4 separate regions of the Homo sapiens genome follow, and all the other regions are linked to region 1. Evidence: promoter capture Hi-C in 16 types of primary human blood cells and fetal thymus (Javierre and others, 2016). All regions are on one chromosome and are shown on one strand. The core of a region is centred on a gene start or on the middle of the fragment in contact, and the rest is flanking DNA. Distances in the headings are between cores, read along the strand shown. Region 1 holds the start of ATAD2B (ATPase family AAA domain containing 2B). Region 2 overlaps CENPO (centromere protein O). Region 3 holds the start of CENPO (centromere protein O). Region 4 overlaps NCOA1 (nuclear receptor coactivator 1).

Region 1 (5,679 bases), core at 2,253-4,752:
TATACACTAAGTACCACCTTTTACATGTCAAAAAAAAAAAAGGCTTTTCATACCGAAAAAAAGAAAAAGAAAATAATTCCAATAATCGGCAGAATGCATATTTTCCCCCATCCTATGCATATACTACTTGGGAAAAAGACAAAACTTTAAGAAAAGCTCATAGCGCTATGACTTTTTAAAGCAAATAAAATGTCTCTGGACACAGTGAATGAAATAATCTAAAAACAGGGAAAAGGGGGAAAAATAGGCATCAAGTGTAGTTAGTTAAGAACATGGCACAGGCTGGGCGCGGTGGCTCACGCCTGTAATCCCAGCACTTTGGGAGGCCGAGGCGGGCTGATGACGAGGTCAGGAGATCGACACCATCCTGGCTAACACCGTGAAACCCCGTCTCTAATAAAAATACAAAAAAATTAGCCGGGCGTGGTGGCGGGCGCCTGTAGTCCCAGCTACTCGGGAGGCTGAGGCAGGAGAATGGCGTGAACCCCGGGGGGCGGAGCCTGCAGTGAGCCGAGATCGCGCCACTGCACTCCAGCCTGGGCTACAGCGAGACTCCGTCTCAAAAAAAAACAAACAAACAAACATGGCACAAAAGCAGAAAAAGGAGAAACTCCTCAATTACAAACAGGAATATTATGTTACAAACAGGAATACATTTCTTTCTACAAAAATAAGGGTCTGCGAAAGCAACAACACGGGCAACCCCATTTTGCACCAAATGAGACTTTACAGACACTGGCAAATGCTTATTACAGACCCCACAGACATAGAGGGTGTCTTTAAGTACTCCAGAAAGGGTGAACCAGGAGTGCTAAATTCCTACAAAACTGGAGAAGAGCTAACCAGAAATATACAACCTGCTTCATAAATATATAGTCCATAAACTTAATAAATTCAGAATTATAATTTATCCTCTTCTAAAGGTCCAATCACTATGTAAGAGTAGTTACGTCTCTAAAAAAACCTTTCAGAGAAAGCAATTAGATGACTACATCATCTCCTAGAGCCGAACATAAATCTTCTTAAGACTGAAAAACAAATATTTCAAAGTAAATCTTTAGTACCCTGTTATTTATGGTGCTTTAAAACATTTTAAAAGGATCTTTGAAACAAAGTTTCATTAGTACCCTTCTACAAAGAGCTCTCATATCTTTCATTCTTTTAGCAATTTAAAAGCTACCAAATGTTCATTTCCTCATTAGATTATTGATTCCTAGCCTTTTAACATCTCTATAACAGCTGCTTGACAAATTACCTCACCTTATTCCTCGGGGGGTGAGGACAGCATGATATCCATGAATTCAAAAATGGGACCACAAACTGATGAGTGAAGATGAGCTAATTGCTTCAGATGAGTTAGACACTGCTCTAACAGACTAGGCATTCACATAGCATGATACGATTAAATGCTTACACCCTAAATATTTTCTTTGTCCTTAAATGTACAGAAAAGATCTTTTCTTAAATTGAGTTTTATTTTAAAATATGTGATAGCCTCAGTAGGTCAAGAAGCTTGAACATGTTTGGAATAGTTTCCACCGAAAGCCTCGTCTTCAAAGTACTTATTCTCAACAGTTTGCACAACTTTCAGATTTAACCTTATTTCAACCTAAGAGAGCTGTAAGCCCCCAAAATAGTCTATTAAATAGGACGTTATAATGCCCAAAATTTTATCAAAGAAAAGCCAAAACGATTTTCAAAGATATAATAAAAATATTTCAGAGTAGTATGGTAAAATATTCCTGTCTCTGCCTAGATCCATTCTGTTAGTGTCAAAACAGTGTAAGACACAAAGAAAAGCACACACAAACCGCGATCTTGTAGACCCCTAGAACATAAAATATTGCTTTCCCCCAATAAGAACCACAAAATGGTGTGGAATTAAAGGAGCATTTTAAATGAACAGCTTTTTCCAGCCAAATTACTTAGCAAGTCAACCTCTTTTAGACAGAAGCAATACACTCTTCTCTGAATTCAGAAACAATCTCATAGTAAAACAAACGTGTCAATTCCTTTAAAACAATAAATATCTGTGCTTAGCTTTATAATGTAGGTAATAAAATTTCAAGATCTTTCAATCAGTTTTTTAATTCAATCACCAGCGTCTTTAAATGTCATTTTTGCAACTGCATGACTATGGTGTTCATTCACCTTTTGTAATATAGTCCCATAACAAAAATGTAGACACCCAAGAAACCACACAGTTTTGGCATGATGGTGCTGACTATCCGAAACATTCCACTTGTTTCTTTCGACGTGCTCCTTCTGTGACCTGAAAGCTCTGGTTCCTACTAGCACCTTGGTGAGCTAGCTGGCTGGTTCCCCAGCTATAATATCATGTTTGATCTCTCCTGCCTGGAGAGGCGATAGCGTTGATTTTGTTTTTAAAGTTGGTGTCAGAGCAGCTACAAACTTTTTTCAGCATCCCTGCCTGGCTGCCAACTGGAGCTCTCTGTTCACTTCCTCACCAACTTGAACCACCCCCAAACTGAGAGTAAGCTGGAGTTAGACAGCGGCAGGAACTGACACACTTTCAAGAAGGGTTTGACACCGCAGAAAACTTTCACTTCTCCAACCCTTCCACCCAGGGGCTCTGGCCCTTCGCTCTTGCTTCCCCGCTAGAATTCCCCTCTGGGGCAGGACAAGGACACGGACAGCAGATCGTTCGAATGACGCCGAAAGGGACCCCCAAAGCCCTCTCCCCTGGACTCAAGGGCTGTTCTTCACACAAAAGAGCCGGGCCAGCTTGAAAAGCAAAGGGGCCAGCGTCGCGGCCCTTCTCTGGGTGCCACCCTCCACCGCGCCCGCAGACCCTGTCTCCAGCCGCCCGAGCGGTCTCCACTGTAGGCTTCCTACCCCCAACCCGGCCAGACAAAGCCCCGGCAGCAGGGCCGGCACTTCCGAGCCTCCGGACTCGGGACGCCGCGCTCTTACCCTGGCCTCATCCAGAGTGACGCCGGCGCCACCGCTTCCCCCGGCTTTGGCGGCGGGGCAGCTGGCGGCGCGGGTCTTGGAGGAGCGGGTCCGAGAGGAGATGAAATGGCTGCTGCCTCCGGTCGCCCCAGGCTCTGCTCCGGCCCCAGGCCCAGGCCCGGGACCAGGAGACTTGGACCCGAGAAGGCGGAGAGAGCTCTTCCGGGTGTTCACCATGGTCCAGCCAGGGGGACGGAGTCCACGCCGCGCCCGGGAGAGCCGAGCAAGGCCGGCCCGCCGGCCGGTCAGTCAGGGCCAGCGGAGCCGAGCCGGGCAATGAGAGACGAGCCGGCCCGGAGCGTGCGGAGCGCAGACGAGCACAAGAGAGAGCCGGGCAGAGGAAGGGAAGTCGGCGTGAGCAGGCGGCGTGCGGGAAGCGGGGGCGGTGCTGCAGACCGGCAGCACAGACACTCCGCCGGCTTCGCCCTCCTCAGCGGGAGCCGAGCGGAGCCGCCATTTCTACCCCTTTCTCTCCCGTTCTCGCTCTCGAGCTCCGTGCGTCAAGGCTCCAGCGCCGCAGGGCCAACGAGACCGCTTCCGGCCGCAGCCACGGCGGGGCGCTGCGAAGCCGGCCAGCCCTTCCCGGCTGCTCGCTCCTCTCCCTGCCGCCTCCAGCTGCCCCGCCCCCGGCGCGGCGTCAGCGCTCGGCGGCCGGGGAGCGACGCTCTAGGCTGTCAGCTCGGTGGTTTCCAGCTCTCCCCGACCGCAGGGCTGGGGCGACCAGAAAAGCCAGACTAATCAGGACGAGTTCGGGCGTGGAATTGGGCCTGAAGCCCTCATGCCCAGCCAGGCCTGAATGCCCCAGACCCCACCGTCACCCCCGTGGCCTGGATGGAGCAGGGGACGGCCGGCGAAGGCGCGGGGTGGAAGGGGAGCGGCGACGAAGGCGCGAGGAGCTGACTGGGAATCCCCAAGCTACCCGAGGCAAGACACTGAACTTGAGTCGCACTTTTCATGCCTGTAGAAATGAGAATGACAGCTGTGATAAAAAAAAAATTCATCTGGGCGGTATCTGGAACTTGGTAAGCTTAAGAAGAGAAGGGGGGGGGGAAACACCATGCTAGAACTCTGCGTTTTTAAACAAAGCGAGGCAGGGTCGTTTTCTATCCCCTTAGCCAGATCTAAGGCGGAGCCAAAGAATGAGTACCCTGTAAGAGCCGCCTCTATCGCCGCCCCCTGCCCCCGGCCCGCTGAAGAATTAAGAATACAAAAAGCTGAACCCACAGATAAAGCATTTGCAATTTAACTTCCAAAGAAAAAAAAATTAAGCCACACAATTCATATGAAAAGCTCTGCTGTAGGCCGGGTGCGGTGGCTCAAGCCTGTAATCCCAGTACTTTGGGAGGCCGGGGTGGGTGGATCACCTGAGGTCAAGAGTTCTAGATCAGCCTTACCAACATGGTGAAACCCTGTCTCCACTAAAAATACAAAAAATCGATGGGTGTTGTGGTGGGCACCTGTAATCCCAGCTGCTCGGGAAGCTGAGGCATGAGAACCACTTGAACCCAGAAGATGGAGGTTGCAGTGAGCCGAAATCACGCCACTGCACTCCAGCCTGGATGACAGAGCCAGACCCTGTCTCAGAAAAAAAAAAAAGAAGAAAGAGAGAGAGAAAGGAAGAAAGAAAGGAAAGAAAGAAAGAAAAAGAAAGAAAGAAAAGCTCTGCTGTAAAGTAGGAATTAGGTTCATTTCAAAAATTCACAGTACAGGCCGGGCTTACGCCTGTAATCCCAGCACTTTGGGAGGCCAAGGCGGGCGGATCACTTGAGGTCAGGAGTTCGAGACCAACCTGGCCAACATGGTGAAACCCCCTCTCTACTAAAAATACAAAAAATTAGCCAGGTGTCGTGGTGCATGCCTGTAATCCCAGCTACTTGAGAGGCTGAGGCAGGAGAATCGCTTGAACCCGGGAGGCAGAGATTGCAGTAAGCCAAGATCGTGCCACTGCACTCCAGCCTGGGTGACAGAATGAGACTCCATCTCAAAAAAAAAAAAATAAAATTCACAGTACATTAGACATAGCCTACTGTTTATTGGGCAGGAGTTTATTAAACTGTTTATTAAACTAAGAAAAATTGAAAACTCAGGAAAAGTCCTGAAAATGACCAAATGGCATCAAACTTAGAGCATTCTGGCCATCTAAGCTCCCAATCATTCCAAAAAACTGTACAACACTGGAAATGACAATTTTTTTTGTTTGGGAACCAGTATGGATTCCAGAATAGATAAATCCTTCTGACACAATTTGCATACCACATCCTCTCCTGGACACTTCACCTGCCACTTAGAGTTGATGTCTTAATGGGTGGGATTCCTCATAATGGAACCATACCTGGATTTTCCTGGGTCAAGTAGCTATCACATCACTGAGCAGCATAAACAAGTATCAATTCCTGTGGAAAGAGGCTGGTTTGGGCCAGGCACTGTAGCTCACACCTGTATTCTCAGCACTTGGAGGCCGAGGCGGGAGGATGGCTTGAGACCAGGAGTTGGAAACCAGCCTGGGCAACATAGTGAGATCCTCTCCCTGCCAAAAAGAAAGAGAGAGAGACAGGGTCTCACTCTGTCACCCAGGCTGGAGTGCAGTGGCACAACCACAGTTCACTGTAGCCTTGACCTCCCAGGCTCAAGCAATCCCCCTGCCCCAGCCTCCCTGGTAGCTGAAACTACTGGGTGTGGTGCCTGTGGTCCCAGCCACTCCTGAGA
Region 2 (5,679 bases), core at 2,326-4,825, 890 kb after region 1:
AACCCTATCTCAAAAAAAAAAAAAAAAAAATTTCTCAATAGTTTGACATTTAGGTTGTTTTTTCATTTTTACCATTCTTCCATGGTTTTAACAACTCAGTCTCAAAGTGAGCCGGAGCCAAGGGGAAGAATGAGCCTATGATACTCATTGAACAAACATTTGTGTACAAAGTGTACATATTCTAGGCACTGTGGAAGCTACTGGAGGCACAGATGAGTAAGACATCACCTTGGCCTGCTGTCTATTGAGGTGTCTTCTTGTTTGCCTCAGGCCTCAGTGGTAAACTGACCAGCCGAGGAGTTTGTGTCTGCATCAGTACTGCTTTTGAGGGGAACCTATTGGATTCCTATTTTGTGGACCTTGTCATACAGAAACCACTCCGGATACATCACCATTCAGTCCCAGTCTTCATTCCCCTGGAAGAGATAGCTGCAAAATATTTACAGACCAACATCCAGCACTTCCTGTTCAGTCTCTGCGAGTACCTGAATGCTTACTCTGGGAGGAAGTACCAGGCAGACCGGCTTCAGGTATCTCTCTGGGATGTTATATGCCTCATCCGTGGGCCCAAGATCAACTTAAAAGGGGGATGTTTTTTGTATTTTCAGTGTTTCCTAACTGTGAGTTAGAAGTTTGACCGTTACCTTTCCGATGCTTGTTTCTTATTTATATAAAAGCACTATCCCACCCTCTTTTCTTTTGAAACTCTGGATGGCGTTGAAGCCTGGGTACTGGTTAAAGGATTATGCACCCCTGAATGGTGGTCTTCAAGCTTTTATCGTAAGATTGTACAGAGTGCAGTTGCTATACTTTTGATCCATCAGGGATTTATGGCGTGCCTACTATGTACCATACCGAGTGCCTTGCTGAACCTTGGGTATAGATCTCATTAGAGAAGAAAGGTTTCTGCAGTGCCATGGAACAATGCTGTCCATCTTCCCCTAAACTCTAGCCTACCTTTTTGGGTTGCAGTTGAGCTAAGGTTGGGTGAAAAAAGTAGATAGGAAATTAATGCAAATAGGCTGTAAGTGCCTCCTACAAGCTTAGCATTTCCCCCTCTATGGATTTGGAGTAACTCTGAAGCTCTCAGCTGTAGATTTAACTTAAATTGAAATGTGGATGCAGTCATGAAGCATCTTAGCCGTGTAACGTCAGTGAAGTTTCTGCAGAAACAGTCTCTTGCGAAGCTGTACCCCTGGCCATTTAGGCCTATAGGCCTTTCCAGGCTGCCAGTGACTCTTAGTTATCTTAGGCATCTTTTTCATTAGTCCTTTTTTCAGACCTTTTTCTGTCCCTCATTTATTTCTCTGAAATGTAATCGATGGGCCTCTTTTTGGTTGACGTAATTGAAGGGTCAGTAAACACCACCTTTGGAACTGCAGTCATCCTCTACTTCGTTTTGTTCCTCACCCCTCTTAGAGTGACTTTGCAGCCCTCCTGACTGGGCCCTTGCAGAGAAACCCACTGTGTAACTTGCTGTCATTTACTTACAAACTGGATCCAGGGGGTCAGTCCTTCCCGTTCTGTGCTAGATTGCTGTATAAGGACCTCACAGCAACTCTTCCCACTGACGTCACCGTGACATGTCAAGGTAAGAAGGGTGCCTCAGTGCAGAAATTCTCATATCCCAGTTTATTTGAGTGAAACAGGGAAAATAGGTAGAATCCATGAAGTAGACCTCTTGAGACACTTTCTCTGTTTATATACTGTACATTACTCAGACCGGTAAGATAGAACATTCTTGTTTCTACCAGTCTTTTCCTTCCTCTTTGTAAATGGTAAACATGATTGTCCCCATTTTCCCTTCTCCTTTGCCCACCCACCTCAGCAGTGTTCTCGCAGCCTATGATTTGTTTTCACTGGGGGCCCTGCTTCAGGAAAGACACCTAATGATAAGGCTGAGTCATGGGTCAGTTATGGTGGATGGAGCCAGAAGACTCATTTCACTGTGAAGACAAATGGACATGACACGTCAGCACACACTTACTCCTCCCTACGGAGCAGTCTCTAAATGGAAATCCTTCCAGACTGGCTGAGAGAGAGATTTTTTGGTGAACCTGTTTCAGTTAAATGTGACATGGGCAATAATGAAAAATTGGGTGAAATGTTTTTAGGAGGCAGAAATTTTGAAGCTGCCCCAGATTTCACACCATCGGTCTTTGATTTCTCTGCGCAGTTAGATTCCAGTCCCCAGTCTCTAGATTGCATTGGTCCAGTAAGGGGCAGCCTTAGTCCAGACCAAAAAAAAAAGCTGTATGGGTCCAGTGGGTCCAGAATATCAGTGATCCAGGTTCCGATTCCCCCAGCTGCACTGAGTGAGATTGAATGTCAGTGATCCAGGCTCCGATTCCCCCAGCTGCACTGAATGAGATTGAATATCAGTGATCCAGGCTCCGATTCCCCCAGCTGCACTGAATGAGATTGATGGAATCTTTCTTTTTAGGAGTGGAAGTATTATCCACTTCATGGGAGGAGCAACGAGCATCTCATGAAACTCTGTTCTGTACGAAGCCCTTGCATCAAGTGTTTGCCTCATTTACAAGAAAAGGAGAAAAGTTGGATATGAGTCTGGTCTCCTAATAGATTGTTTTCACTGCACTGGGAGCACATCAGAGGTAAGTAACCAGTACTGAAGACAGTACCAGGTGGGTAGTACTGTCTGATGAAGGGTACATCACCCTTCTGATGAAAACAGACACCTACCTGTTCATCTGGATGGAAGAGCAGGTTTGAGTATAGACACTGGCATTTTTGAACAATTCCCATGATCACCTGGTCCCTTCTTAAAATGCTCAAGATGTTTTTTAAAGGTATTAGTTGATCATACATTTTAGTTGAAAATCATTTGTGGGGCAATAAAAGCCATTTTTTGAAAAAGGTGTATCACTCAAGAAGTACTTATGGAAAAATATCAAATTATTGAGGGCATTAACTCTGGGAAAGACCAGGCAATTAAGTTGTCACAGTAACTGCTACTAATTTAATGCCAGGAATAGAGATGCCAAAAATCCTAAAATTTTCAGAAAGGGCTCTCACAGAAATGTAGCACTCCACTCAAACTGCAATAGCTTGATTCTGTTGAGAAACACTGATCTAAATAAATGGAAAAATAACCCACATTCACTAATGAAGATAATAAGGAAGACCCAATATTTTTTTTTTTTTAAAAGGAAAGTATTTTTAGCTTTTATGAAAGCTTTAAGTAATTTTTCCTCATTTTCCTGTTTGAAACTTTTGAAAAGGAAGTTCTTCAGTGTTTGTTTGGTTAGGCGCAGTGTATTCTAGGCCACTGCTTTATAAATATGGTGTGAGAAAGCAGTAGGATAAAATAATCAGAGTTCAGTGTGTCTCATATTTTGTTTCCTAAAAGTTTAGTAGAGCTGTGAATGTACTAGGAAGTCCCCTCTGAAAAAGCACAGTTAGTTAGTTAGAAATCTGCCCATTAACTCAGGGGGACTCAGGCGCCCCCCGGGTCTTCCCTCTCCTGCAGGCTCTCCGGTTAGTGTCCTGATTTGCCGTAACCACGGGCCTCTGACCTGCTGGCACCTCTGGTTCCTTGGCGTGTGGGTCACTCACAGATATGAAAACCTGTGTCTGGCTGACCAGGTTCTCCTGTAGCCCTCCCTTGCCCAGGCACAGATAGGAGTCATGACTGGCCCAAGGCCACGTTCAGACTTAACCCTGCAATGGCCACGAAGTAACCTCCGTGTGGGAGAGCTCCAGGAACAGTGCAGGGGATTAAAGCCAGCTTGGAGTACCCTTTAGAAGAAAGTTTAAGAATAAAAGAGACAGGGCCAGGCAGCAGGCGTTCCGGGGTACAGTGAGCTATGATGAGACCTTCAAGCTCTTGCCTTCCAGGCCTGTGGTGGGGACCAGTGGCATGAGTCAGCAAAGTACCAGCACTCCTCAGATAAGTGATATTAACAGAATTTCCACAATCACTTTCAAGTTGAATAAAGCTTTTAATAAAACAGTCTTGTTCTTTATCAATACCTGTAAATTCTCTTAAAGCAGTAGCAAAGGCGACTGTAGCAAGAGCTCAAAAGGCAAGGCAATATCGGAAAGTGTATTTAACAGAAGATTAAAAATATAAATGTAGAAGATCTGTTTATATATTTTTCTTTCAGAAATAAATCCCCCCTCCCCTGCCAGGTGAAAGGAAATATTGCACTTTCTGTTCTCATGACTAAGGGGACAGGAGTTCCAGAAGAACCTTTCAAGATGATCAGGAACACCAGGACGAGGGCCGTCTCACCTCACTCGGACCACATGGAGACCTCCCTTCAAAATGGGAGCCATGTCCTGCCCCACCAAGCCCTGTCTGAAGTGGAGCTTCCCCGCCTGTGCTCCCTCCACAGTCCCGGAAAGCCCAGCGGCAAAGGCAGCTTTGTCCCAGCTCTGCCACCCTCCTGCTCACAGTGGTCAGGGCCCCTCAGGGGCAAGGACGGCAGGGATTGGAACGAGGGCTCTGGAAGGACTGTTCAGCCCTATGCCTAAGACCCCTATGCTGGGGACACTACAGGCACACACAGGAATAGCAGGGCCACCCTCAGAGCTCACACATCCACGAACAAATGAAGGCTGAGGAGGTTTCTAAACCTAAAGTCCATGAGTGTGCACTTCAATCCAGGAAGGTCGGGACTTCCTTCAGTTTCAAAAAATAAATTCTCCCTTCCGGTTTGGACTGTTGCAGGCTCGAGGCCATTCAGGAGTTGTCCACCACCTGGTGGGGCAGTGTGACAGAGGGGCCATTGGGGAAGGTGGCTAGCTTATCCCGCCCCTTCAAGAAGAAGGTCAGCAGCTCCCCCTTCCCCTTCACAAAGATGGGGCCTCGCCTCACAAAGCGGAAGCCGTACTCTCGGAGGATGACTTGGGTTTCTTCTACCACCTGGAGAGGGAGGGGGAGCAAGAACGTGGCGTTACGGGGGGAGCCTAGACTGAGGGCGGGTGGGGGCTTTGGGTGGTTGGAGCCGAGCACTGATCCATGGGTCCCAAGCAGTACGGGACACTCCCCAAACCTCCCAGGGCCAAGCCCTTCCACCCGTGGCGAGCAGCGGGTGGGAAGGAGAACCCTGGAGTGACTGGCTGGGGGCCTCCTCTCATCCAGAGACTTCTCTCCTAGGATGGCCATGGTCACCTGGGTGGCAGCACTGTTACCTGGAAACTGCCACTGCCTGCTCTTCTGTCCCTTTGCCCCTTTCGTGGAGCTTTTCTGCCAGACGCCACTGAGACAGATCACAAGGTATTAGAAGGTTCATACCCAAAGGTAGGCCATATGCATCTAGAACTTCAGCCCAGATTTTGTGGATGGGTGGAAGTGTTTCTTCCTGTGCTGAGGCTAGCTATTGCAGAGATTCTTTTCCACTTGCCCCACGTCTCTGCCTCTGGACTTACTGTTCAGGGCCAGGGTGGGAGGCAGGGGCACGTGGGAAAGCACTGTTCCGGTTTTGTTCTCATGCCGAGTCTGAGCACGTGCCAGCTGTGCCACTGGACATACCTGAATGTTGCCCATGACCCCCGTGGACTCCATCCTGCTGGCTACATTGACTGTATTGCCCCAGATGTCGTAGTGTGGTTTCCGGGCTCCGATGACCCCAGCCAGAACCCCGCCTTTGTTCATGCCTAGGGTAGAGGCATAAAGTTCAGCACAGCCACAGGCCACACCTTGTTATGGGCCTC
Region 3 (5,679 bases), core at 2,099-4,598, 870 kb after region 1:
TTCCGCCCTCGATGTCTCAGCACCTCCCCCTCCGCCCGAGTGCCTCACCTCGAGGACCACTTTGCGCATGCGCCCCAGCTCTTGGAGGTAAGCGGCTGTGTGCGGGTGGTCGCGGTGAGTGTGCAAGGCCGCGGTGGCCGCGTGACAAGCCTGCGCTACCAGTGCGCCCGCCGGCCAGGAGAACGGAGCTTGTGATAGATCCTTTCGTAACACCAAGTATTGTACCAGGACCTGCGGCTCCGCCCCAGAGGCCGCCATCTTCCTGACCACCCGAAAGGCCGGACCTACTCCCCGGTGCATCTTGGGATCAGGGCGGGGCCCTGAGCGCCGCCATGCTTTTGTACGGCAGGATCGCAAAGCACGCCGGGACCGGTTGGTTTGGTTTTGAAGACGTGGATGGCGGGAATTCTCGCTTCTGGCCTGGGTGAGCTAGAAGGGAGAAGGTAGGGGAAAGACCCATTGTCGGACCGGACCGTGGCCAGGGTGGCGGGCTGAACGGCCTTCTTAAAACTCCTTCCGTGGCCGGGAAGCCCGCTGGACCAGAGTAGCCGTGGCCTCGGGAGCGCGCCGGGGCCGCGGGATGGGCGCGGGGGTGGGCATGGACTCTGCTGGCTCGGACGATGGGAGAGGGCGGGCGGCTCAGGAAAGGGGATCCTAGCCGTGACATTTGTGTCATCCGCGGCCCAGGGGTTGTGCCTGAGTGGTGTGTGCCCTGCCGTCTGGGTTTGAATGGGACTAGATGTGATGTGACTGTTGCCATTTTTCTTTTATTAGCAAGGACATTGGAGTCCCTATCACCGGTTGCCTAGACAACTTCATGGGAAGGCCCTTGGGAATCTGAGATGGAGCAGGCGAACCCTTTACGTCCAGATGGCGAGTCCAAAGGAGGTATTCAGAGGGTCGCCGCCTCCTTCCTGCTGCTGCCCAAAGATGACCCGCAGGCTGAGAGAGCCCTTTCCTCCTGGAACTGACGTGGGACCTGGCCTGTTTGGGAGCAGAATAGTGAAAGGAACTAACATTGAAGACAAAGGGACAGGCAGCCAAGATTATTCGAGGAGGAAAAATGGCTTCGTTTCTAGGCTCCCACCCCTTTTGAAACGGATAAGTTGCATCCATCATATGCTCAGTGTTTATATTCTGAACTGCGGTTCTAGCCAGGGAGGTCCCTTTCCTCTCCCCGGATTTTTTGGGCCATGTATGCATTACTCTTGAGGGAGGGCCAGTGTAGGGCAGTGACTTTAGTGTTGGCTAGAACTGGTTTTGAGTGTTGGCTCTGCCATGATAAATATTGTGACCTTAGGCAAGTCACTTTATTCTCTGCCTCTGTTTCTTCATCTGGAAAATGGAGGTGAAAATAGCACTGTAGTTGTGGTTGTGGAAAAAGTATTTCTTTTGTGGTGGAAAAGTATTGAACTCAGACTTTTCAAGTGAAGCATTTAGCACATGTCTAATATATAGGAAATATTCAATGAAAGGCTTAATTCTTTACATACTTTGTGTCTTAAAATGTAGAAGGTGTTTAAAGAATGCTTGTTAGAGTTGCTTAGAATTACGAAACTATTACTTTTACTTAGTCCTTAGTCAATCCTTTGGAAACTGAGATTTGCGTTTGAATTTCTGTCCAGGAGTAAGTTGCTTTCTTCTTTAGTGCCTAGTAATATTTGTGGACAGTTCTGGTTTTGTGTGACTTTATGTTCTTTGCTACTAATACTTTTTAGAACTTTGAAATACTTACTCAAGCCTGATGCCTAAATCCAAAGGGTTCTACGTTAGTACTTTGGGAAAGCTTGCCATAAAACCTAACTTAAATTACAGTTTTAAAAAGAATTTCTGAGCGCGTCAGTGAATTTGGTTATCCTATTTTTCTCTGGGTCATCATTATCATTGATAACAGAGAAGTAACTATATTCAGCCTAAGATGACTTAAGCTGAGACTTTAGATAATAAAAGTATATGGGGTAAGATTTATTGTTACTTTAAGACTAAAAATAAGTTTGGTGACTTTATGTAGTGGAAACATGCTACACTCAGGAGTAACCTGTTCTCTAGTCCAGGCCTTATTTCATTTCTGTTAAAGTAAGTGATGAGGTGGAAGTTTTGGATTATCAAGAGACTTAGACCAGTCTCCTTATTCTCTACCCAAAACAATATTTAAACACTTAGCTGTTACCCATACTGGTTTTATCCCTCTGCTTGTTTGATTTCAGTTTTTTGCTTATTATTTGAATTCTCCCCACTCATTTGAGAAGGAAGGACATGGAGTTGTAGTTGCAACCAGATGATTTATTCAAATAGGCAGGGATTTTGACTTTTTTTGGGACAAAGCTGACTGGCTAGGATGAGATGCAATCATAACTTCCAAGGTAAAGCAGGCCCAGCAGATACACTCCCTCTTTTCTGTAGTAGCAACGCTAAACAACAACGCTACCCCCTTGGTGTAGAGGGAATCAGGTCGGTAAAGAAGCTGGGCAGGTTTGAGAGCCTGAGAAGAGGGCTGTGTGGAAGTGCCTAGAGAAGGAGCAGCATGATACTGTTTTGAACACCTACTTATCTCAGAAACTTTGGGAATATTGATATCTACTGTTTTAGTAATATAGAATTTCCATAAAGTAGAATTTGGTGAGGCGTCTCCTCTACCACCCTAAATTATTCTATGTGTGCGTGCTTTTCAGATCACCTCCTGGTTGGACATTAATTTTTGTAAGCTCCGTGAGGACAGGGACTTCGTTTTGCCACCACAGTATGAATAACTTCCAGCACGGTCCTTGGTCCATAGTAAATTCTCAATGCATAGTTGTTGGATAAATAGAGATTGGTGAATAAAGCAGTTAATCACGTGCTAATTATTAGGACTAATTTATTTAATTAGAATTTTGGTTTCTCACGATTATTATTGCGGTAATGTGGGTTTTTCTGTGGACATGAGCCAAGTGAATGTAATCTCCAAGAGTGTCATGCCTGGTTGTCCGTGTTTCGGTAAACATTTCCGGAGTGTTGGCCGGGCGCGGTGGCTCACACCTGTAATCCCAGCACTTTGGGAGGCCAAAGCGGGTGGATCACAAGGTCAGGAGTTCAAGACCAGTCTGGCTAACATAGTGAAACCCCATCTCTACTAAAAATACAAAAATTAGCCGGGCATCGTGGTGCATGCCTGTAGTCCCAGCTAATTGGGAGGCTGAAGCAGGAGAATTGCTTGAACCTGGGAGGTAGAGGTTGCAGTGAGCTGAGATCGCGCCACTGCACTCCAGCTTGGGCAACAGAGTGAGATTTCGTCTCAGAAAAAAATAACCATTTCCGGAGTGTTTACCATGTGTAAACACTTTGTGCTAGGGTTAAGGGATCCATGGGTGAACACAAATGCACACGGTCCCTGATTTTGGAACTTTAAGGTTCAGTGGAAAAGATAAGCAAATCAAATAATCACACTAATGAATATACAATTAAAACTATAGTGGCCGGGTGCGGTGGCTCACGCCTGTAATCCTAGCACTTTGGGAAGCCGAGGTGGGAGGATCGCTTGAGCTTAGGAGTTTGAGACCAGCCTGGGAAACATAGTGAGACCCCATCTCTTTATTTAAAAAACAAAAACAAAAAAACTATAGTATTGTCTCAGAAGGATCTTTGAGAGCTTATGAGCTGGCACCTGACCTTGTTCTGAAGGTGCTACAAAGGTTTCCCTGAGGAAATGCTGCTTGCATTGAGTGCTAACGAGCTAGAGTAGCTGCAGGTGAAGGTGGATAAGGGGCGGCTGTGGAAGAGCCTTTGGTGTGTGTGTTGGGGGTGGGGGGATCAGGTCAGTAAAGACGCTGGGCGGGTTTGAGAGCCTGAGAGGAGGCCTGTGTGGAAATGCCTAGAGAAGGAGCAGCATGATACTGATGAGGGTAAGAGAGATCCAGAGGCCAGTAGGCCTCGTAGGCAGTGTGAAGTCATCGAAAGGCTTTAGCCAGCTGGATGACACGATCCAGTTTAGATTTTGAAATATGGCTTCAGTGTATGGGCCACCTAGGAAACTTGTAATAGGCCAGAAATGGTAGTAGCTTGAACTACAATGGTGGCATTGCAGATGGGGAAAATGGAAATATTTTAGAGATACTAGGAATGTATATTCAATAGGATCTGGTAATGGATTGGGACTGGGTCAGGGAGAAGGTGTGAGGAAGAAAGTACTGGTTTACACAGCTATAGATGGATAATGGTTCCAGTCATGGAGGGGTTTAGAAGGGGAGATGATGAATTCAGTCTTGGACATGTTGATTGTCAGGTTCCTGTAAGTCTTCCAAGTAGATACACTGAGAAGGCAGGTGGATATTCTGCTTTCTCAAGAAGCAGGAGAGAGGTATAAGCTAGAGATACATATTTGTGTGGCATCGACATGTATGGCCATTAAGGCTGTGGGTACTGATGAGATTTCTTCTGGAAAGAAGAGGTCTTAGGACTGAGCTCTGGAAAATTTCAGCATTTAATGGTCAAGGAGGAGAGTAGGAGCCTTCAAAGCAGAAAGTGGGGTCAGAGAGGTAAAATGTAAGTGTCACAAAAACAGGTTGTCTGTTGTTCATCACTATGTTCCCAGTGCCTGAAATAGTACTTGGCACAAAATAGATGCTTAATAAACATCTGTTGAACAAGGCATACCAACAGGCCGCTATGCTAAGATTCAGAGGAAAAGAGGGTTTCGTGAAGGTGGTGATCAGTAGGAGCATATAGTGCTGGGAGGTGAGATAAGGGAGCTTGAAAAATGTCCTTTGGGTTCAGCAACATGGATATCACTGTTGATCTTAGAGTGGTTTTGTAAAATAATGGGAACAGAAGTGAGTTTCAAGTGGGTTGAGGTATGAGTCACAGGCAAGAAAATGGAGAAAGTGAGTACAAGTTGAGCACTGAAGATCCAAAATCTGAAATACTCCAAAATCTGAAGCTTTTTGAGCACTGACATGATGGTCAAAGGAAATGCTTATTTCCAGTTTTGGATTTTCAGATATGGGATGTTCAGCCAGTAAGTGTAATGCAAATACTCCCAATTCCGAAATCTGAAACACCTCTAGTCCCAAAACGTTCGGATACTCAACTTGCATGGACAACTCTTTTAAGTAGTTTTCCTGGAAAGGAAAGGGGAGAAAAGGGAGATAGTAGCTGAAGGGGATTTGTGGGCAAGAATAGGCCTGTGAGTGTATGAAATTGTGTGTGTGTGTATGTGTGTGTATATATATATATATATATGAGTGTGTGTTTGAAGACAGTTGAGACTTGAGCGTGTGTGGAAGGGAAATGAACACAGCAGAGAAAAGGGTAACTGATCATTTAGGGTTTCTGAGAAAGCAAGGGGATAGGCCTCAATGAGTAAAATAGGATAATTCTGCATATAGTGCGTGTCTGTTTCTATTTGATCTCACACAAATTTTTTTTTTTTGAGACGGAGTCTGTCACCTAGGCTGGAGTGCAGTGGCACGATCTTGGCTCACTGCAAGCTCCGCCTCCTGGGTTCACGCCATTCTTCTGCCTCAGCCTCCTGAGTAGCTGGGACTACAGGTGCCCGCCACCACACCCGGCTAATTTTTTGTGTTTTTGGTAGAGACGGGGTTTCACTGTGTTAGCCAGGATGGTCTTGATGTCCCGACCTCGTGATCCACCCGCCTCGGCCTCCCAAAGTGCTGGGATTACAGGCGTGAGCCACCGTACCCG
Region 4 (5,679 bases), core at 1,489-3,988, 570 kb after region 1:
AAAATGGAAGTGTTTCTGTTTTATCTCCTGTACTTTGTGGAAAGGTCTAATTTGGTTTTGTGAACGAATGTCCGAAATGTTTTATATTTCTTCTTCAGACTCTATGCTTTGGGAACAGTGGGTCACAGAGAGGGTCTGAGTTGGGAATATATGGTTTAGAGAGAAAATAGAGGACTGCTGCTTATAAGAACAGGTGTTTAGTTTGATTTTTGTAGATATTTTCTACTGGTTATTTAACAACATTGAAGTTTGCTTTATAAGGTGCAAAACGTGAATTTTACGTAGCTTACACTTGATCTCTTCCTTATTTCTCTCAGAAAACCTGTAGGATTGTGCCTATTAAATTGCTTTTTGTGTGGTTTAAACCAAGAGAGTATTTTAGATCTGCAGTGGTTTTATTGGAAAAAAAAAAAAAGTGCTTGATGGAGCTAATGGTGATTGTTTCACTTAAACTAGGATTATATAGACAATGCTTCTTCCTGCCTCTTTCTGCGAACATTTGTTTTTGTTTCTCCCTCAATTCCAGGGTTTCATTTCTAGAAATCTGGGCTGCAAACAGAAGCAGCAGTTTGTATAATCCCAAGAACTTGCTTATGCCAGGAAGCTGTAAGGGTAGCATGAAGCGGGTGTGATGTAAAGACACTGCTACTACTTAAGACATTTAACTGTTGAGGGAGTCTAAGGTCAAACTTTAATTTTTGTTGAATTTCCTGTTTTCTGCTTATGTGTTAATCTTTTGGTGGGCAGAAGATTGGGTTGCTATGGTGCTAACTGGTGTATATTGTGAAAGTGCTGGCAACATTTCATGCTTTTACTCTATAGGGAAGGGTGGTAAACAAGCCTAAATAATTTAAAGATGTTGTTCTCAGAATGGAATGTTCTGTGCATGTCTTCTTGATCCTGCTAATCCAGTGAGCGGTCTTCACTAGGACTAAATGTTGAGTAAGTGATGAGGGTGGTATAGAGGTGCTGAAAGGTGGAGTGGTGGAGAGAGGGTATTGGGCATTTTCTTGAAATTCTTTTCCCCAATTCTGTATAGGGAATCTGTATACTAGACTGTGATTTATAATTGTTTTTCAAGGATGTTTTAGTTCTCCCTGCTTGGTTGTCATCAATTTCATATACCTCCTCTTAGATACTACCTCTGTTCCGTACTTTAGTTTGTCTTTTTTGCTGCGTCTCCCAAGGACTCCACATTGTTTGAATGTTATGTTGCATATCTTATGGAGTTGGCTGGCCTTAAGCCATGTGGCTTAACATAGTTTTCATTATAGGGCAGGTGTGGGAGGTCAATACAACGCACAACACGGAGTAAAATCTAAGTCATGGAGCATAGGAGATCCCCGGGACGCTCATGATTGTTTTGGCATTGGTTTTTGCCTTTTAAATATGATTATAACAGAAATTCTCAGAGGACCATCAGCTGCTTTCCTGGCAGAGGTCCAAAAATGTTTTGGAGGGTTCCATTTTGCATTACTTGCAAATATTGGATGCTGTGGTCGGTGTGGGCTCGGGTGAAATCCATGTGTTTCAGGAGGTGGATGTCAGAACACTGTATCTGATCTGGGCTGCAGAACCGTATAAATTTCTCCCTATCTTAGATTAACTTTCCTACCCATTTGGGAAGACTAGACTGTAGGAAAGGACTTTTTAAAATTGCTTCTTTCCCAGATTAGCAGTAGTTTAGCCGTTGGTGATTGGCAACTAAGGATAGGCCTCATGTTCTATTCTTAACATTGAAGATGAGGTCTAGTCATTTAAAACCTTTCCTTTTCTCTTTATATTTTAGTTAGACCTTGTGCCTTTCAACATTTGGTGTCAGAGGTCATAAAATGGCCTAGTGGCAACTAGGTACCAATGTTGGTTGCTTCATTTCATAAGGAGATGAAGGTGTTTTTTTTTTGTTTTTTTTTTTTAATAGCTTAGTTCTGGAAAATGGTTTGTGGGCTATAGTATTTGGATTAATGTATAGAAATGATTATTATATATTTCTGCAGGATACATGGCTGAATAAGGGAAATTATTATAAAACGCTGATACCAACATATAAGTCCAATTCCATAAGTTTAAGTAAAGTGAGTTGTATCCATGCTTCTTCCCCCATAACCCCATCTGCAACACAGAATTTTTGAGGCTCCTTGGAGTGATAGGCTTTTAGAAAAGCTTAGTATGGTTATCATATTTAAAAGATAAGTAGCTTATGCCAAAATAGAAGCTCTAGTCACTCGAGGAGTTATGGAAGACTCACCCTCATCTTGGATATATTTTGTTCTTACCACTCCCCGAGAGTATGTTTTAGTGTGTGGAGGGCAGGGATGTTTGGTTTTACTGAGTAGCCCTGACCTGACCATTAGGCACAGACAGGCCAGACTCATAAAAATAGGTGCAAGCACGGAAGCAAAACGCACCCATTATCAGGACCAGAATTCTAATTGTACTGGATTATCCAGTTTTTCCAGAGTGATGCTTCATTTTTGCCCTTTCAGCTTATAATTGTGGGGCAATTTTAAAGCATCTTTTAGAAAAGAAACTCTGACCAGACAGACAGAGGTGTCCTAGCTCTTCCAGATACTTAGGTTGATGTAGCCTTGAGCTGTTTAACCACACTAAACTTCAGTTTTTATATTTAAAATTGGAGTAACGTACTTGTCCTCATATTGTAATCTTTAAAATTATTAAATGTGTTTAGCATATGATTGGCACATAGACATTAATGACTAACAGGTATTTCATTAGCGAATTCATCACCAAATTCTCGCATTCTTTTCTTTGTAATTTCTCAAATTTTTTCCTTTATTTCTGGTTCTGCAATCTGGTCCTCCTGTCATTTGCACATGGAGTAATGGGAGTCACATTGACTCTGTGGGCCTGAGTTTCTTTATCATTAAATGAGCATGTTGGTCTAATTTCACATTTCTTCTTGTTTTAAAATTCTGTGATTTGTAGGTTTATAGCTGTTTGCTTGCATGCATTTACCTCTCTAATTTGTCCTACACATAATGCTGAAGAAATTCCCTTCTAAAAAAATTTTTTTATGTTATTGTTTTCAGAGGAGATTTTCTGTGGGCAAATTTATCAAATGTAAATCATTTAAACTGATTCTTTCATTTCCCATTCCAGAAAATTTGCTGTAGATGGCATATGCAGAAATACTTCGCAAACTGTAAAGTGCTACGCAATGAAGAAAGTATTATGATAATCATAGATATCTTGCGTCTTTGCTTTTACATGTTCCATTTTCTTCATTTAAATTGGATTTCCTTTATGTTCTCGTGACCTTCAAAAACAGCATCAAAGCTGGTATGTTTTCAAGAAAGCTTGATTTTTATCACTCCCTTAGCATTAGGTACTCTGTTCTGTATAATAAACTTCTCTTTCTCTCTCTTTCTTTTGAGAGAGATTCTCTTTTTAGTGTGTGTTGATTGGTTTTCCTAAACAGATTGGAAAACGCTTGAGATGCCAGGAACTACAACATTTAGAGTTAAAGAGCCTTAAATGATCATTTAGGACAGCCTTCTTAATATTACAGCTGAGCAGACTAAGTCCATGCAGATGTAGTTGGGAATAGGGTTTCTTTATGAGAGTTACTTTTTGTATTTAAAGTTACAATATTACAAAGATATTTTAAATAATAAGAATTCCTGTAAGCTTTTGAGTAATGTGTAAGCTAGGAGGAAAGGAGCATTTTTATTTTTTGACCAAAATATGACTCTCAAATATTGTAAAAAGGTATTAATTAGGAATTAATTAAGACCGTTTTCTCAAAAACTACAAAAGTACCTGTAGAAAAACGTCTGCTTTTCTTGTAAGGCCCTCATTCATAGTCAGCAAATATTTATTGAGTGTTGTCTCTGAGCCAGGTACTGTGCTAGCTCTACATATTACATTTTATAAATGAGGAAACAAGGCTCAGGGAAGTTAAGTGGCTGGCGTAAGATTGCACAGCTTATAGGTGTTAGGGATGACATTTGAGTTCAAGCCTACTGAGTGGAAATCATATTCATACCTTTCAATTGGCTTCTCTTCAAGCATGTTCGTCACACTTGGCCACATTATACTTTTTTTTTTTTCTTTCTGGACTTTCTTTCTCTTGAATACCTGTGTTGTGGAGACTCCTGCAGTCTTGTTCCTTTCTGATGACCCGGGAGCCATATATACCAGTTACTTGATGAAAATGTCACTTTAAGATTCTTGTGGGCTGGGCGTGGTGGCTCACATCTGTAATCCCAGCACTTTCAGAGACCAAGGCAGGCAGATCATGAGGTCAGGAGTTCGAGACCTGGCCAATATGGTGACACCCTGTCTCTACTAAAAATACAAAAAATAGCCGGGTGTGGTGGCGCAAGCCTGTAGTCCCAGCTACTCAGGAGGCTGAGGCAGAAGAATTGCTTGAACCAGGGAGGCGGAGGTTGCAGTGAGCCGAGATCGCGCCATTGCACTCCAGCCTGGGTGACAGAGCGAGACTCCATCTCAAAAAAAAAAAAAGATTCTTGTGCTGTTTCTGGTCTCACCTTTGTACTTCAGTAATGTTGATTCTTTGGTGCTTCTATCCAGGTAAGGTTATCTTTGGTTGGTTTTGGATTCTTAGCCATAAAATTCTGCCTCTCAAGTTTTGTTGGTATTTAAATAGCTAAAGCTTAGTGTGGTTTGGTTTTGTTTTTATTTTTTTGGAACAAATTGCTTGGTCATTCTCTGTGTTTCCACTTGTAATTTGAATGGTTGATTTTATCTTAAAATTCCAGTTTGCCTATATAGTTAAAACATTTACATACTTTTATTATCAAGCATAGATTTGATTATTTAACAGTAGGTATTCTATTGTGAATGTATGTATGTATATAAACATATCACATCATATTTGACCAGATAGTTGAAGGATGAAATGTCCTTGAGTTTTGAAAACATCTGTATGTGTAATATTGACTTTACTTTGGTGAATTTGTTTGTAAGAAACAAAAAGTTATTTGTTCTGCAATGTCTAATATCTCCCTCTCCATTCTAAATGGTACAGGTAGTCTGTAATTGAATTTCTAAGTAGCTACTCAATCATTCGGTCAAGACGTAGTTATATGAGTACGTACTTTGTTCAAGGTGCTGTGCTGTAAAAAGATAGTGGTTATTGGGAAATTAACCGATAAAATATAGATCCTGTTCTTAAGCAGATTATGACCTGAGAGAGGTGATAAGACAAACATACAAATACCTATAATAGTAATTGAATGTGATGAGTGCTGTGAGACAGGTCCTGAAACAGTGCTTTGAACATTCAGGGAGAGGGAATGATTATTGTATTTTCATTTGAGAAAAATCAGGGCAAGTTTTATGGAGGACTTGGTGGTAGACAAAAGCATTGAGGGCAGGGGATGATTTCTTTAAGAATAGAGACAAGGAGAACAGTATGTTCAGGAAGATTAAATAGCAAAGATGAAAAGACGGAGTAATGCAGGGGAAAGTGCAAGGAGTGTGGCATCAGCTGAAGTGGGAGAGGGAAGCATATCGTCTAGGTGTAGTAAGAAAACATTGGTGGATTTTAATGGAGGGAGGTGGTGGGGAGCAGTATGTAGTAAGTATGTAGATATGGATGAAAATGAGAAATGTCAATTTTCCAAATTTACGTGGATCTTTTCTTGGCAGGTTTTATACCCCAAATTTCATATTTTTTGTTTTTGAAATGATTCC

The links. The method cuts DNA at HindIII sites, captures the fragments that hold promoters and counts their contacts. A CHiCAGO score of 5 or more calls a contact.
Region 2: a contact is called between a fragment that was not itself captured here and the fragment with the promoter of ATAD2B in region 1, in 1 of 17 cell types (total CD8 T cells). The highest score is 5.1, in total CD8 T cells.
Region 3: a fragment that was not itself captured here is called in contact with the fragment with the promoter of ATAD2B in region 1 in 8 of 17 cell types (total B cells, naive CD4 T cells, erythroblasts and 5 more); the score reaches 7.6 in total B cells.
Region 4: a fragment that was not itself captured here is called in contact with the fragment with the promoter of ATAD2B in region 1 in 2 of 17 cell types (monocytes and total CD8 T cells); the score reaches 5.5 in monocytes.

Annotation. Positions count from the first base shown.
Region 1 is chr2:23,923,621-23,929,299 of GRCh38, forward strand. ATAD2B (ATPase family AAA domain containing 2B) reads right to left here and starts at 3,503. Exons shown (of 28, transcript NM_017552.4): 1 at 2,935-3,503. The coding sequence starts at 3,150. It also overlaps a transcript of UBXN2A not described here. RefSeq lists enhancers at 2,170-2,419, 2,518-3,436, 2,630-2,679, 3,437-4,353, 3,940-4,029 and silencers at 3,160-3,239, 3,440-3,769. The HindIII fragment of the contact is 2,488 bases long and covers 1,511-3,998 here.
Region 2 is chr2:24,815,227-24,820,905 of GRCh38, forward strand. CENPO (centromere protein O) reads left to right here. Exons shown (of 8, transcript NM_001322101.2): 5 at 271-530; 6 at 1,420-1,591; 7 at 2,444-2,615; 8 at 4,128-5,679. The coding sequence ends at 2,580. ADCY3 (adenylate cyclase 3) reads right to left here. Exons shown (of 22, transcript NM_004036.5): 21 at 5,498-5,622; 22 at 3,943-4,888. The coding sequence ends at 4,706. Among named protein-coding and RNA genes, the nearest start is that of CENPO, 25 kb to the left of the region's middle. The HindIII fragment of the contact is 763 bases long and covers 3,195-3,957 here.
Region 3 is chr2:24,793,078-24,798,756 of GRCh38, forward strand. CENPO (centromere protein O) reads left to right here and starts at 348. Exons shown (of 8, transcript NM_001322101.2): 1 at 348-424; 2 at 775-888. The coding sequence starts at 843. PTRHD1 (peptidyl-tRNA hydrolase domain containing 1) reads right to left here and starts at 314. Exons shown (of 2, transcript NM_001013663.2): 1 at 49-314. The coding sequence starts at 300. RefSeq lists an enhancer at 1-404. The HindIII fragment of the contact is 3,129 bases long and covers 1,785-4,913 here.
Region 4 is chr2:24,493,200-24,498,878 of GRCh38, forward strand. All of the region lies in intron 1 of NCOA1 (nuclear receptor coactivator 1), which reads left to right. Among named protein-coding and RNA genes, the nearest start is that of NCOA1, 4.8 kb to the left of the region's middle. The HindIII fragment of the contact is 1,154 bases long and covers 2,162-3,315 here.